5 separate regions of the Homo sapiens genome follow, and regions 1, 2, 3 and 4 are each linked to region 5. Evidence: promoter capture Hi-C in 16 types of primary human blood cells and fetal thymus (Javierre and others, 2016). All regions are on one chromosome and are shown on one strand. Each heading gives the region's core, a stretch centred on a gene start or on the middle of the fragment in contact. The rest is flanking DNA. Distances are from core to core; before and after follow the strand shown.

Region 1 (2,700 bases), core at 176-2,675, 150 kb before region 5:
CAGCTGTCACCATGCCTATCTTCCCACTTTAAACAACTGGGACACTGGGCAGTAAATGGGGCACGGCTTTCACAGAGCGAACGATGAACACACGAGCGGTGCGGGGCTGAGGCCCCTCAGAGAAGGTCCTCGCGAGATGGGCCCACTCGCCGCCCGGCTTCTCTCCACAGGCCATTCCGGATCCCCGCAGGGACGGCAAACCACGCAGAGCACGGTGGTCTTGCTGTGACGAGGAGATGAAGGTTGGAGTTTGGAGAAGCTGAAGTGGCTGAAATGGGCTTTATGAGGCAGAGGGGCAGAGAGGAGGGGAACCTGGGATCTGTGCAGGGATCCCCTAGAAGCTGTGGCTGACAGCCACATGCAAATACACAGGAGAAGCCAACACCGGCTGGGCCAAGAGCAACTCGTGGGAACGAAGCAGCCAGCACGGGGCTCCACGTGCGCTGATTCCCAGAGCTCGTCAGGGCGGCCGGCGGAGCATCCTTGGAGCTCTCGCTCCAGGGCACGCAGTGGGGTCTGGGAGTCATAGTGCTGAGTCAGCCCTGGTGAAAAGGCTTCTCTAGACCTGCCCCACCTGCCCTCGCACTGATTTTAAACAAGTCTCAAATGGGTCAAGCTGCCATGTAAATACTTAACTGCAGCCAAACAAAAAACAGCACAGCCAAAACCAGATGCTCGCCAACATCATATTCACCATGTCTGACATCCAGTGAAAACTTACCAGATGGGCAAGGAAGTAGAAAAAAATGTAGCTCTCTCCAGTAGAAAAATCAGCCCATAGAAACAGACTCAGAAATAAAGATATGATGGAATTAGCAGATAAATACATTTAAGCAGCTATTACAAATAAGTTCAGAGATTTAAAGGCAACCGTGCACATAATGAGGAGAGAAATTAAATGTATAAAAAAGTCTAAATATTGTAATATGTGCTGTTTTCTTTCAGTGAATGGAAGAGTTTAACGAAGAAGGAACATTGGAATCAAGAGTTGAGAACATAAGCCAGGCGGGGTGGCTCACGCCTGTCATCCCAGCACTTTGGGAGGCCAAGGCAGGTGGATCACCTGAAGTCAGGAGTTCAAGACCAGCCTGGCCAACATGGTGAAACCCTGTCTCTACTAAAAATACAAAAATTAGCCAGGCGTGGTGGCGCATGCCTGTAATCCCAGCTACTCTAGAGGCTGACACAGGAGAACTGCTTGTACCCAGGAGGTGGAGGTTGTAGTGAGCTGAGATTGCGCCACTGCACTCCAGCCTGGGTGACAGAGTGAGACTCCATCTCAAAAAAAAAAGAAAAAAAGTTGAGAACATTATCACAGCATGTTTTTTTTCTTCTGCATTAGTTCATATTATGAGGGTTTTCTACATACACAAGTAATAGGTAAATCTAAATGTGCTTTCTTGAAGATACATGATGTTTTATTTCAGTCAATGGAAGTATTTAACAAAAAAAAAAAAGAATGCTGGAAGGAAGAGCTAAGAACGTTATTACAACATGTTTCTTTCAGCATTGGTACTTTTCCTTTTTTTTTTTTTGAGACCCAGTCTCGCTCTGTTGCCCAGGCTGAAGTGCAGTAGCACCATCTCGGCTCACTGCAGCCTCCGCCTCCTGGGTTCAAGTGATTCTCCTGCCTCAGCCCCCCGAGTAGCTGGGATTACAGGCGTGTGACACCACACCGGGATAATTTTTGTATTTTTAGTAGAGATGGGGTTTTACCATGTTGTCCAGGCTGGTCTCAAACTCCTGACCTCAGGTGATCTGCCAGCCTTGGCCTCCCAAAGTGCTGGGATTATAGATGTGAGCCACCGCGCCCGGCCCACCAAACATTTATTTATATTTTATTTTTTATTTGTTTATTCATTTTTTTGAGACAGAATCTCACTCTGCTGCCCAGGCTGGAATGCAGTGGCACGATCTGGGCTCACCAAAACCTCCGCCTCCTGGGTTCAAGTGATTCTCCCACCTCAGCCTCTGGAGTATCTGGGACTACAGGCGTGAGCCACCATGCCTGGCTAATTTTTGTATTTTTAGTAGAGACGGGGTTTTACCATGTTGGCCAGGCTGGTCTCGAACTCCTGACCTCAAGTGATCTGACAGCCTTGGCCTCCCAAAGTGCTGGGATGACAGGCGTGAGCCATCACACCCGGCCCACCAAACACTTTTAAACCATCAGAACTCACTTACTATCATAAGCACAGCATCGGGGAAACCGCCCCCATGAGCCAATCACCTCCCATCAGGGTCCTCCCTTGACACATGGGGATTACAATTTGAGATTAGATTTGGGGGGGGACATAGAGCCAAATGATATCATACAGCATACACATTCATCAAAATTCATCAAGTGTAGAGTTAAAATGGATGAGTTTAGCATATGTATTCTGTAATAAAGTTGACTTGAATGTGTATGGGAAATAGAATGCTATCTTTGTTCAAGGAAGTGTTCGCCCCAACGGATAAGAAACACATGAGGACATGAACAATCAGACAAGACAGACGAGGAGATTCTTTGTTTTTGTTTTCCTTTTTGCAGAGATGGGGTCTCACTATGTTAACCAGGCTGGTCTCCAACTCCTGGGTTCCAGCAATCCTCCTGCTTCTGCCTCCCTAAGTGCTGGGATTATAGGTGTGAGCCACCACGCTTGGCAAGAGGAGATTCTTAGTGCAGAATCAAGCAGGAGCACCTTTATGGCTCTTATT
Region 2 (2,700 bases), core at 22-2,521, 240 kb after region 5:
GTGAAATGAGATGGTCTGAGGAATCCTATTTGAAAAGATGCCATATGTCTTTCTTTTGTTTGCATTTACGTCCTATGATTTGATTTTTTCATGGTACAAAAGTATTTAATAAGTGACACTTCAGTACAGAAAACACAGAGCTTGTAGCTTGTCCTTTAAAACCAGGACGGCCAAGTGAAAAGTCAGTACAGAGTCTTATTTTTACTATTAAACAAATCAAAGGGACACACTGGGCATTGAACTACTATGCTTTTTCTTCTTTCTAGAGATGACATACGTGTTTTCTGATAAGTAATGTACCACACATTGCACTAAAGCAAAGCAGCAAACAGCCAGTAAAGCTGTGCCCTGCCTGCTGCTCCTGCCGGGCTGGACCAGTGGAACACCATCTCGGTAGGAGAGGAAGAAAATGCAGAGTCCCTAACCCAGAGAGCCTAACAAACTGGTTTATACCGAAGTGATCTTCAGCAAACACGCAAACACACTAACATGCTGTAAGAATGTTTTAGTCTATTTCTAGCACACAGCATAAATTCGTAGGTGCCCAGTCAAATAGGAAGGAACGCCATTGTAGAAAGCATTTTTGCCTTCACAGCACTAACACCTAAAAAGCACACGGCATATAGTACTTTGATCTTTAAGTGGATAAGCATGGAAGTCCCAAGATCATATCCACTAGATTAGCCTGAGTATTCATCTATAAAAATATATATTTTTAAAATAATGCTTAAAAGAGACTTCTAGAAACAGTGGGACTACATCAGGAGCAGAAGACAGCGACACAAGGACTGCAAATGTTAAGACTAGGAGTGGCTTTTCACGTGGAACTTTTATGTAGAGGACGTCTCTTTCTGTTGATTGCTACAGCCGAGACAAGCTGTGATCACAGGAGATTCTGAAATCTCAAGCTGGGCTTGAGTAACACCCTAGATAGACATCAGGAACCCCATTGAGGCTGAAGTACTGAAACTGACCCATGTGAAGAAGAGATAAAGAGATGCAGATGCGCAAAGATTCACGCAGAGCCTGCTGGGACAGAGGGTGGCGGCGGGTTCATCCACACGTCCACACCAGCGTGTGTGCTTGGGTGGCGGCGGCGGGTTCATCCACACCAGCGTGTGTGCTCGGGTGGCGGCGGCGGGTTCGTCCACACGTCCACACCAGCGTGTGTGCTCGGGTGGCGGCGGCGGGTTCGTCCACACCAGCGTGTGCTCGGGTGGCGGCGGCGGGTTCGTCCACACCAGCGTGTGTGCTCGGGTGGCGGCGGCGGGTTCGTCCACACCAGCGTGTGTGCTCGGGTGGCGGCGGCGGGTTCGTCCACACCAGCGTGTGTGCTCGGGTGGCGGCGGCGGGTTCGTCCACACCAGCGTGTGTGCTCGGGTGGCGGCGGCGGGTTCGTCCACACCAGCGTGTGTGCTCGGGTGGCGGCGGCGGGTTCGTCCACACCAGCGTGTGTGCTCGGGGAAGGACCCCCCAAGTGGAGTGCTGGACATGGGCTCGCTCCAGAGGCGTCTGACTCAGAAGCTCCTGAGAGAAGTGTCTCCTTGAGGAGGGGAGGAATACTACGGTTAATGAATACAAGAAGGTGTTTCAGGAGAAATAGGTCTAGGAGGGTTAAGTCATTTTGGTTTTGACCTGTCAATACTTAACATAAATGAAGAATTACAAAACAGAGTCAGTCTTTTTCCAAGATGTATTCTGTCATCATGAGCTGAGCCTGTTGGGCTGGTGACATCCAGAATGTTCCAATTCATTGGCTGGAGGGAGGACCCAGTGCCGCAGATTGTTCTGGGAAGCTGGCACAGAAGATGATTGACACAACGAAGTCACCACTAAGCCACTGCTTAAGTCTAGTCCTCGGCCTTCTTTTTCTGCTCTGTAGTCCAAAACCGTGAACGTAGCAGCATGTCGAATATGTCACCAGCTGCTTCATTTTTATGGTGCTGTAATGTGGTGGTGAAAGCTGCCATGTTGAATCCAGAAATCCGCTCCAGCAGCTGTTCTTCAATATATTTTTCTACCAAAAAAATGTATGCAGGCTGGGTGCGGTGGCTCACGCCTGTAATCCCAGCACTTTGGGAGGCTGTGGCCGGCAGATCACCTGTGGTTGGAGGGTTCGAGACCAGATGACCAACACGGAGAAACTACATCTCTACTAAAAATACAATATTATTAGCGGGGTGTGGTGGTGCGTGCCTGTAATCCCAGCTACTCAGGAGGCTGAAGCAGGAGAATTGTTTGAACCCACATGGCGGAGACTGCGGTGAGCTGATACCGCGTCATTGCACTCCAGCCTGGGCAACAAGAGCAAAACTCCGTCTCAAAAAAAGAAAAAGAAAAAAAGAAATGTATTCATTAAAAATAGGTGTGTAGGTGAGTTTATTCTCTTCCGTGTCTTCAAACTCCAGGTAGTACTTGTCCATGTAATTTCTCTGTAATAACTGGAACTCGTTATCCATGATAACGTTCTCTAAATATCCAACCACAACAGCAAATTCATCAGAGGTGGAGGAGAAAGACAGCACAAAGCTCTCTTCTTCTAAGGTGTCCATCACTGCAGCCCCGAGCAGGCTCCTACCCCGCCTGTGGCCCAACCTGCATGCAGGGCGTGGCGGGCGGCCGGGTTAAGGTCTCGCAGCCAAAGCTGCGGCGTGCTCACTGCCCAGTCAGGGCAGCACCTGCGTGCCAGGCCCAGCCCTG
Region 3 (2,700 bases), core at 92-2,591, 170 kb after region 5:
CTTTGGCAACGCTCTAGACACTTTGAGGGTTGCTGTCAGATCTGGCCCAACCTCTCCTATGTGACGGGAAGGATTTCAGGCATTTCAAGTGCCCCGCGCAGTGACTGGCCCGGAATTCCGCGCGTCTTCCCGGTAGCGTTTTTCCTTTGTCTTTGGTAGAGGACTGGGGGTGGGTGGGGGGGTGGGTCTCACACTGTTGCTCACGCTGGTCTCGAACTCCTGAGCTCCGTGGATCCTCCCGCCTCGGCCTCCTACGCGCTGGGAGTGCAGGTGTGAGCAACCCCGCCCGGCCCAGAGCGGCTTAATACCAGCTTTCCAGCGTTGTGATTTCCGGAGAAACGCAGGCTGACTTCCATGTTTACTATTCACTCTTCTTCACTAATGACACCACGTACATTCTGTTCGTGATTTCTGTGTGACTCAAGTCCACAAATCCTTCGTGTGCTATGCGGAGCCTTTGTGATTGTTGAGGGTTCTCAAGATACTCACTGATGGGGCCGGGCGCGGTAGCCCATGCCTGTAATCCCAGCACTTTGGGAGGCCGAGGCGGGTGGATCACAAGATCAAGAGATCGAGACCATCCTGGCCAACATGGTGAAACCCCGTCTCTACTAAAAATACAAAAATTAGCCGGGCGTGGTGGTGTGTGCCTGTAATCCCAGCTATCGGGAGGCTGAGGCAGGAGAATCACTTGAACCTGGGAGGCGGAGGTTACAGTGAGCCGAGATCGTGCCACTGCCCTCCAGCCTGAGTGACAGTGAGACTCTGTCTCAAAAAAAAAAAAAAAAAAAAAAACCGGTATTCATTTATGTAAAAGACTCCCTGATGTAGGTAATGTCGGTCTGGTTTAAAAACCTATACAACCAAACAACATAGGCAATGTTTAGTCTTAGGAAAGACTAACCAACATCAGGTGGCAGTTTTTCTGTTTAAAAAAACCTATTTTGGCCGGGAGTGGTGTTTCACCCCTGTAATCCTAGCACTTTGAGAGGCCTACGTGGACAGATTGCCTGAGTTCAGGAGTTCAAGACCAGCCTGGACAACATGGTGAAACCCCGCCTGTACTAAAATACAAAAAATTAGCGCGGCGTGGTGGCGCCTGTAATCCCAGCTACTCGAGAGGCTGAGGCAGGAGAATCGCTTGAACCCGGGAGGCGGAGCTTCAGTGAGCCGAGATGGTGCCATTGGACTCCAGCCTGGGTGACAGAGCGAGACTCTGTCTCCAAAAAAAAAAATGGTTTCAAAATGTTTTGAGAAGCATCTGTTTTGTCTGATGTGTTTTAGTTGATTAAGTGCAAGTTGCAGGATCGGAATCTTGAACAATAAATCTTCCACTAAAAAGTGTTGAGTGGAATTACTGCTCGTCGTAACAGGTGTAATGAGACAGCGTGGTACTGAAACCAGCAAATTTGTGGGTGTGTCTGTGGCCAGCCCAGTGTGTGTCCTGCTGACTGGACCAGCTGTGGTTTTCCTGTCTGTGACCTTCAGCTCCCTTCTGCATCTTTGCTTTCTGTTTGGTGTGTTCTCTCATAATGTCTGTATCGTCATTTTCATTCTCCATATTTTTTTAGTTACGACGATTCTTTTCCTTCATGGTTTTGACCATTAGTGTTTTTAATTTCTGTTGTGATACAGTACTTTGTCTTGAGCTCCACAATTGTGTAATAAAATAACAATACACTGGCCGGATGCGGTGGCTCACGCCTGTAATCCCAGTACTTTGGGAGGCTGAGGTGGGCGGATCACGAGGTCAGGAGATCGAGACCATCCTGGCTAACACAATGAAACCCCATCTCTACTAAAAATACAAAAAATTCACCGGGCGCGGTGGCTCACGCCTGTAATCCCAGCACTTTGGGAGGCCAAGGCAGGCGGATCGTGAGGTCAGGAGATCAAGACCATCCTGGCTAACGTGGTGAAACCCCGTCTCTACTAAAAATACAAAAAATTAGCTGGGTGTGGTGGTGGATGCCTGTAGTTCCAGCTACTTGGGAGGCTGAGGCAGGAGAATGGCGTGAACCCGGGAGGCGGAGCTTGCAGTGAGCCCAGATCACGCCACTGCACTCCAGCCTGGGCGACAGAGCGAGGCTCCGTCTCAAAAAAAAAAAAAAAAAAATACAAAAATTTAGCCGGGCATGGTGGCATGCGCCTGTCGTCCCAGCTACTCGGGAGGCTGAAGCAGGAGAATCGCTTGAACCTAGGAAGTGGAGGTTGCAGTGAGCAGAGATCATGTCACTGCACTCCAGCCTGGGCGACAGACAGAGACTCCATCAATAAATAAACAAAATAACAATACACCACACATACTGACTTGCGAGTGTGTGAAGGGGTTCTGTCCTGAGAACACACATCTCTTCAGCTACTTTTGCTGTGTTATTAGCAATTTGTGTGTTATTTCTTCTGGAACTTCCAGAATTTCTCAGGACAATTGCATATGTTTCAGATGTGCAAAGCCTTGATGTGACTTCACACTCCAGGGATCACAGTTGGTGCTGCCACAGGCGTGTGCCCTGCAAGCACAGGCATTCCAAGAAATGGTTCACTGCAGCAAAATTTCTGCTGTGGGGCAGGGACCAGCTCCATAGAATCTGCCCTCCAGGAGGGATTTCCCATCCTGACCAGCATTCAAGAGTAGGTTCTCTGCTCACACTATGGGAGTCAGATGTTCGGAGAATGTTCCAGACTGTGTGTTGGGAAGTA
Region 4 (2,700 bases), core at 10-2,509, 240 kb before region 5:
CCTAGAGGGGGGTACTCAGCACCCATGCTCACCCGTGTTGGGGTGGGGGCCCGCTGTCCAGGCCAGCCCAAGAGCCACCAGGGCTGGGGAGGGACGAAATGGGGATAGCCTATGCTCTGGGGGAAAGGTGGCCCCTGCCCCACTGTGGACCGACCCAGCCAGTCCAACCCCTCCAGCAGGGTCCAACCTGGAGAACCACTCCTGGCCAGGACACGCAGGTGTTGCCTGGCACCCTTCACCTGCGCGGGTGAACCCACAGACGCTTGCCTCCCCATACCAACCCACACACCACAGGAGGCCCTCCCTGGAGCCCAGGTCCCTAAGACCCGGAACGGGTGCCCAGGCCGCCGGCTCCTCCTCCAGCATGAGGGCTGGTGCGGCCCTGGGGGGAGGGGGCGGAGGCCAGCGCTGGTCTGGCCACTTGCACGAGGCCCCAGGGCCTGATACGCGCGCCGCCCCTCGGCAGTGCGGCCTCCCTTGGGCCGTCCCGGCAGGGAGGCGGCCGCCTTCCCACCCGCTGCGATTCACAGAGGCTTGGCTGCCCCGGGCCAGCTCCAGGCCCGCACGCTGGGTCCTCGCCGCTTGCTATTCACGCGGGGTCGACGGCCAGGCAGGGGGTGGGAACACCGCGGCGCGCCCGGCCTCCCTTCGCCCCGGGCGGGGGCTGCTCGGGACCCCTGCGCTTCGGCCGGGCTGCGCCACGTGATGGGGAGGCCGGTCCCGGCGCGGCCCCTGCGCCCCCCCGTTCCTCCCTCGCGGCGTCCCCTTCGGGCTGGGCCTCGGCTCCGGGGCGGCTCCGGGAGGAGGATGCGGCGGCGCCTTTGTGGGCGCGGGGAGGCCGAGCCGGGGGCTCCTCCAGGCCCTTCAGGGTCCGCGGCCTCCCCCACGGGAAGCGAAGGCGGCTGTTGGTGGCTTTCCCCGGCGTCCTTCCCCCGCCATCCGCCCACCTACTCCGCGGGGCCCCGGGCGCCTCCGAAGGGGCACGAACACCGAGACCCGGACAGGCCGCCCAGGCGACCCCTGGATACGGGGCCGGGCCACGCGCGCCCCGAGAGCGGAGGATGAGGAGCCGGGCCACCCCGGGAACCCCGGGCCCAGCCCCGACCACGACCCGCGCCCCGGCCCCAGCGCCGGCTGCTCGTACCTGGTGAGGGCGCGGGCGGCGGTGCGGGCGGCGGAGAGCGAGGCTGGAGCGCGGCGGAGCGGGAGGCTGAAGCGCGGCGGAGAGGGAGGCCGGGGCCGCTGCCGTCTCTCTGGCTCCCTCTAGGCCGGCGCCGACGCTATTTAAACCGCGGCCATCCCCGGGCGGCCACGCCACATGGGCTGACAGCTTGGCTGCGCCGCCCAGGCCAATGAGCGTCGGGGCTGCGCCCCGGGACCCGGCGCGCCGCCGCCGGTGGGGTGATGCTCGTGCGCGCCGCCGCCCGAGCCGGGACCCTGCGCGGGAACGCGCCTGGGGGGGTGGGGCTGGGACTGAGGAGCGCCGGGGGCGGGGCGGGCGGGAAACCACCGCCCCCCGACTTCCGCCTCCCGCCCCGCGGGCCCCGACGCGCACGCGGCTGCGACCGAGCCCGCGGCGCGCCTCCCGAGCCATCCCCGACCCCCGTGTCCGCCGGGGCCACGTGTGCGGGATGGGAATGCTTGGGCCACACTGGGGACTACCCCGTGGCCACACCGGGGGTCCAGCCGGCTGCGGCGGGGCGCTCGGACCCACAGGCGCGCGGAAGGACGGACGGACCCGCGTGCCCGCACTTCGGCCGCCGACTCCACGCCGCCGTCGCTGCCCGCGCGGAGCTGGCTGAGGGCGCGGCGTTGCGCGGCGCGGCGGCAGCAGCAACCAATCGGGCGCCAGGGGTGTTCGCACCGGCCCAATGGCGGCGCGCGGGTGGGCGTTGCTAGGCGATAGGGTGATGGGCGGGCGGCGGGGCGGTCCCGGATGCCTCGCGGGCCGCGGCGCAAGTGCGGGCGTTGACCCCGGCCGCGGGCGCCCCGGCCGGGGTTACTGCCGGTCATCGCAGCGCATCCCCGGTTTTCCTCGCGGGTGCGGCGGGGAACCCAGACCCGAGACGGACGTCCACCCACCCGACGGCCCCTCCTTAGCAGCTTCCCGGGGACCCGGACGAGGCGCAGGGCCGAACGGGCGAGCGCACTCCAGGCCGCTGGAGCTCGGCGGAGGGGAGGGGCGCGGCCACGTGGCGAGCGGAGTCGGCCGGGACACCCACCTGGTGTGGTGCGGACAAAGGGAGCCGCTGCCCCACTTCCCAGGGCGGAGGCTGCGAGTTTTCCAGGCGCGCACCCACGGGCGGGGGCTCAGCCCGGCCCTCGCGCGCTCCCTCCCTCCCGAGTGATTCCTCGAATCGTGGCCCCTTGGGCGGCCTGAGCCCTGAAGCGCGGCCTCCCTTTTCTGACCGCTTCGCGCTTGCGGGGCCAGGCACCCCATGGGGGGCAAGCGGGCCTTGTGAGGCCACAGGTGTCTCTGGCTGCGTGTCCTACTTTGAGGGCTCAGCAAGCCCGGGCCGCTGAAGGGGAACCGGAGACTGGGGCCCCCGGCCCCTCTGCAGGTGTCCCGCTTCCTTCCTCTCCTGAGAGCAGGCCTGAGGGTCAGGCGGCCACTCCGCGTCTTTTCCCTTCTGGGGCTGTGGTTGACGCACGGTGGGACCGAGGGTCAAGGAAGGACAAGGGAAGACAGGGCCGGGGCTG
Region 5 (2,700 bases), core at 90-2,589:
GGAAGCTCCGGCCCCCTCGGGCTGGGTTCATTGGGGTCCTCCTGTGTGGTCAGTGGACTCTGTACCCCCACAGCACCTGAGGGGTGGCTGACACTGCTTTCCCAGCTGCTGCAGGGGCTCAGGGAACACAGGTGACCCCACGTCTCTACCGAGAATGAGCACACCAACACCTCTCAGAAGACAGCTGCAGCCTGCAGAGGCCATGGACCCCACCCAGGCCCACGGTGTGGACGGCTCTGCCCTGGTCTCTGCTGAGCCAGGCCCAGAGGGGACCCCAGGTGAGCAGCAAAGCCCCCCAGGCCTGGGGCTAGACCGGGCTAACCCTTCCTGCTCAGCACCTGTTCACCTGTCCCCTCTGCTGGTGGCCTCCTGTCCTCCCGCTCTGGGCTCAGCAGCAGCCCCGTGGAGAGGCCCTGCCACCACCCCCGCCCTGCTGGAGACAGGCCTCCTACGCGGGCTCCTGCAGCCGGTCGCCCTGGGCCTCCTAGAAGCCGGGGATCCTCTGCTGACCACCGGCAGAAAACGTGCTTCTCAAGCTGCAGGTGATTCACCAGTAGTGGGCAAGGAACTGAATGTGGTGATTACTGCGGAGTCAGCAAAACCCGCGTGAGAACGGGCAGCTGAGGGCCTGCCGGGTGAGGGAAGCCTCACGGTTCCTGTTTCATGAGTTTGCTGTGAGTGCACACGAGGCTGTGGCTGTGGAGTGTGCAACAGTCCACGCGTGCCTGCGTGTGCTCATGTGCGTGTGTCCACCAGCTTGTGTGCACGCATATGAGCGAGTGCGTTTTGCTCCCAGCTTGGTCGCAGCGACGGCGCAGGGAACCCCGGGTGAGGCCGAGGACCGGGAAGGGAGGAGGGGGCTCCGACCCATCGGACTTAGGGGAGCCCCGGGTCCGAGACGCCGCCTCTGTCCCTTCAAGAGTCGAGCCTGGCGCACAGGGCAGGGACGCGGGTCCCCACACCGGCCGGCAGCTCGTTCCCGCCCATACTCGGGTACGCCCGCTGCGACCCCGCCCGCCTGGCCTGCGACGCACGCTCAGGGCCAGCGGGGGGTGACGGTCCCAGAGGCAGAGGCGCCGCAGCCCCAGAGTCCCCATCCCTGCGCGGACCGGCAACCCCAGTGCACCAAGAGGCCCTAACACCGAGCCCCCAGCACCGAGTCCCCAGCACCGGGCCCTCAGCACCGAGTCCCCAGCACCGAGTCCCCAGCACCGAGTCCCCAGCACCGAGCCCGCCCCTCTGGTTCCCCCGCCCGCCCCTCTCCGCGCCTCACCGGGTCCGCTCCTGGACGCGCTCCTCTGGGATGCAGCTTCTCCGCGCCCCGGAGCCCCAGGAAAATGAAAGACACGAGAGGGAGGGGCCAGGGAGGAGGCGGCGGACCCGCGCGGGACCCACCTCCCAGATGAGGAAGGAGCTGGGTTTACGGGAAGCCTCCAAGTTTCGGGAACCACCCGCGTTCACAACAAGCGTGACGGTGAATTTATTATTTTCACGGGAGGCACCGCACCCGCGGTTCACGCTAAAGGAAGCAGGAAAGCCGCCGGGAGCATTTTTCCAGGAGAGTTCGTGCCTGGGCGGGTCCAGCTCGCGTGCGGCGCGCGTTCCCCGCGGGGCTGTTTGGCTCCGCTCCTGGAGGCCTCGAGTCTGTGCACGGGGCGAGCTGGGCGGGCCGAGTGGGCCGCGGGGAGGGAGGGCGGGGGGCGGCCCCCAGATGCCTGGGAGTGCGCGGGCAGAGTGAGCTGGACCCCCGGAGGGTCAGAGGCCCTTTCATAAAAGCGCGCAGAGCAGAGGAGTGATGTCCCCCAGCTCCCCCGCAGAGGGTCCTGCACCTGCGGCCTGGGCCTTCAGGCGTCCTGCGGCCCCTGCGGAGGTGCTGGCCTGGCCAGCCCGGGAGGAGGGGCCCAGCCTGTTGGGGCAGGAGATTGGGGTGCGGGTAGAAGGCTCCAAGACGCATCCGGGCCGGGAACCCACAGACATCCCAGGTGGGCAGGAGGTGGCTCGAGGAGGCCTGGAGGACCCGGCGCCTGGCGGGGTGGCAGGCGGGCCACGTCCTCCACTAGAACCCGAGGGGGCACGCGGGCAGGTGCGGGCGGGGTCAAGGATGACCAGGTATCTTCGGGACACTAGGAGGAGGCCCCACAGGCTGCAGTCACGTGAGTGGGCAAGTCCCCACCGGGCAGATGATGGGGGACACTGGGGCGTGGGCAATGCCCCCAGTTTCATGGAAGAGAGGAAGAAGCAGAACCAAACTCCGGGAAACCCTCAAATGTGGGGAATGGACGGAGCAGGGCCAGACTGGACGCTGAACCTTGGAGCCTGCAGCTCAGCCATCAGACCCAGGGTCCAGAGGTGGGTGGCACAGAACAAAGTCCCCCGGGATGTTCCAAAAGAGAAACTGTCGCCAAATTGGCAGGTGAAACACAGCCTGTCATCCTCCCAGCAAGACGGCACCATGGCCGGGGCACAGAGGTCAGATTCCCCAGCCCCCGCCCTCGGGGAAACCCCAGCCACCCTGGCTGCCAGTGAGATGCTGGAGAGGGGGCTGAAATCCCACCTGCCCACGTCCTCTGCACAGAGGGGCTTGTCCCCGAGGCCACATCCCCCAGCAGCCACAGCTTCCTTCTCCTTTTTTCCTGCCTACTAGATCTCTCAACTCAGAGGGGGCTGCAGTTCCTGGGGGCAGGGGGGTCCGGCTGCTTA

Evidence for each region. Contacts are between HindIII fragments. The CHiCAGO score rates a contact against its expected background, and 5 or more counts as called.
Region 1: a contact is called between a fragment that was not itself captured here and the fragment with the promoter of SECTM1 in region 5, in 2 of 17 cell types (naive CD4 T cells and naive CD8 T cells). The highest score is 6.1, in naive CD4 T cells.
Region 2: a fragment that was not itself captured here is called in contact with the fragment with the promoter of SECTM1 in region 5 in 1 of 17 cell types (activated CD4 T cells); the score reaches 5.4 in activated CD4 T cells.
Region 3: a contact is called between a fragment that was not itself captured here and the fragment with the promoter of SECTM1 in region 5, in 1 of 17 cell types (activated CD4 T cells). The highest score is 6.0, in activated CD4 T cells.
Region 4: a contact is called between the fragment with the promoter of FASN here and the fragment with the promoter of SECTM1 in region 5, in 10 of 17 cell types (total CD4 T cells, M0 macrophages, non-activated CD4 T cells and 7 more). The highest score is 11.5, in total CD4 T cells.

The regions. Positions count from the first base shown.
Region 1 is chr17:82,180,837-82,183,536 of GRCh38, forward strand. All of the region lies in intron 8 of CCDC57 (coiled-coil domain containing 57), which reads right to left. Among named protein-coding and RNA genes, the nearest start is that of CCDC57, 31 kb to the right of the region's middle. RefSeq lists an enhancer at 1-779. The HindIII fragment of the contact is 7,884 bases long and covers 1-2,700 here.
Region 2 is chr17:82,574,841-82,577,540 of GRCh38, forward strand. All of the region lies in intron 4 of FOXK2 (forkhead box K2), which reads left to right. It also overlaps the pseudogene ARL2BPP9. Among named protein-coding and RNA genes, the nearest start is that of FOXK2-AS1, 12 kb to the right of the region's middle. The HindIII fragment of the contact is 4,658 bases long and covers 1-2,700 here.
Region 3 is chr17:82,497,878-82,500,577 of GRCh38, forward strand. No RefSeq gene overlaps it. Among named protein-coding and RNA genes, the nearest start is that of TRX-CAT1-8, 4.4 kb to the left of the region's middle. The HindIII fragment of the contact is 2,729 bases long and covers 1-2,700 here.
Region 4 is chr17:82,096,977-82,099,676 of GRCh38, forward strand. It overlaps FASN (fatty acid synthase), which reads right to left and starts at 1,260. Exons shown (of 43, transcript NM_004104.5): 1 at 1,145-1,260. RefSeq lists an enhancer at 1-484 and silencers at 353-402, 463-672, 693-882, 953-2,432. The HindIII fragment of the contact is 59,862 bases long and covers 1-2,700 here.
Region 5 is chr17:82,332,427-82,335,126 of GRCh38, forward strand. It overlaps SECTM1 (secreted and transmembrane 1), which reads right to left and starts at 1,340. Exons shown (of 5, transcript NM_003004.3): 1 at 1,274-1,340. RefSeq lists enhancers at 1-646, 2,694-2,700. The HindIII fragment of the contact is 7,811 bases long and covers 1-2,700 here.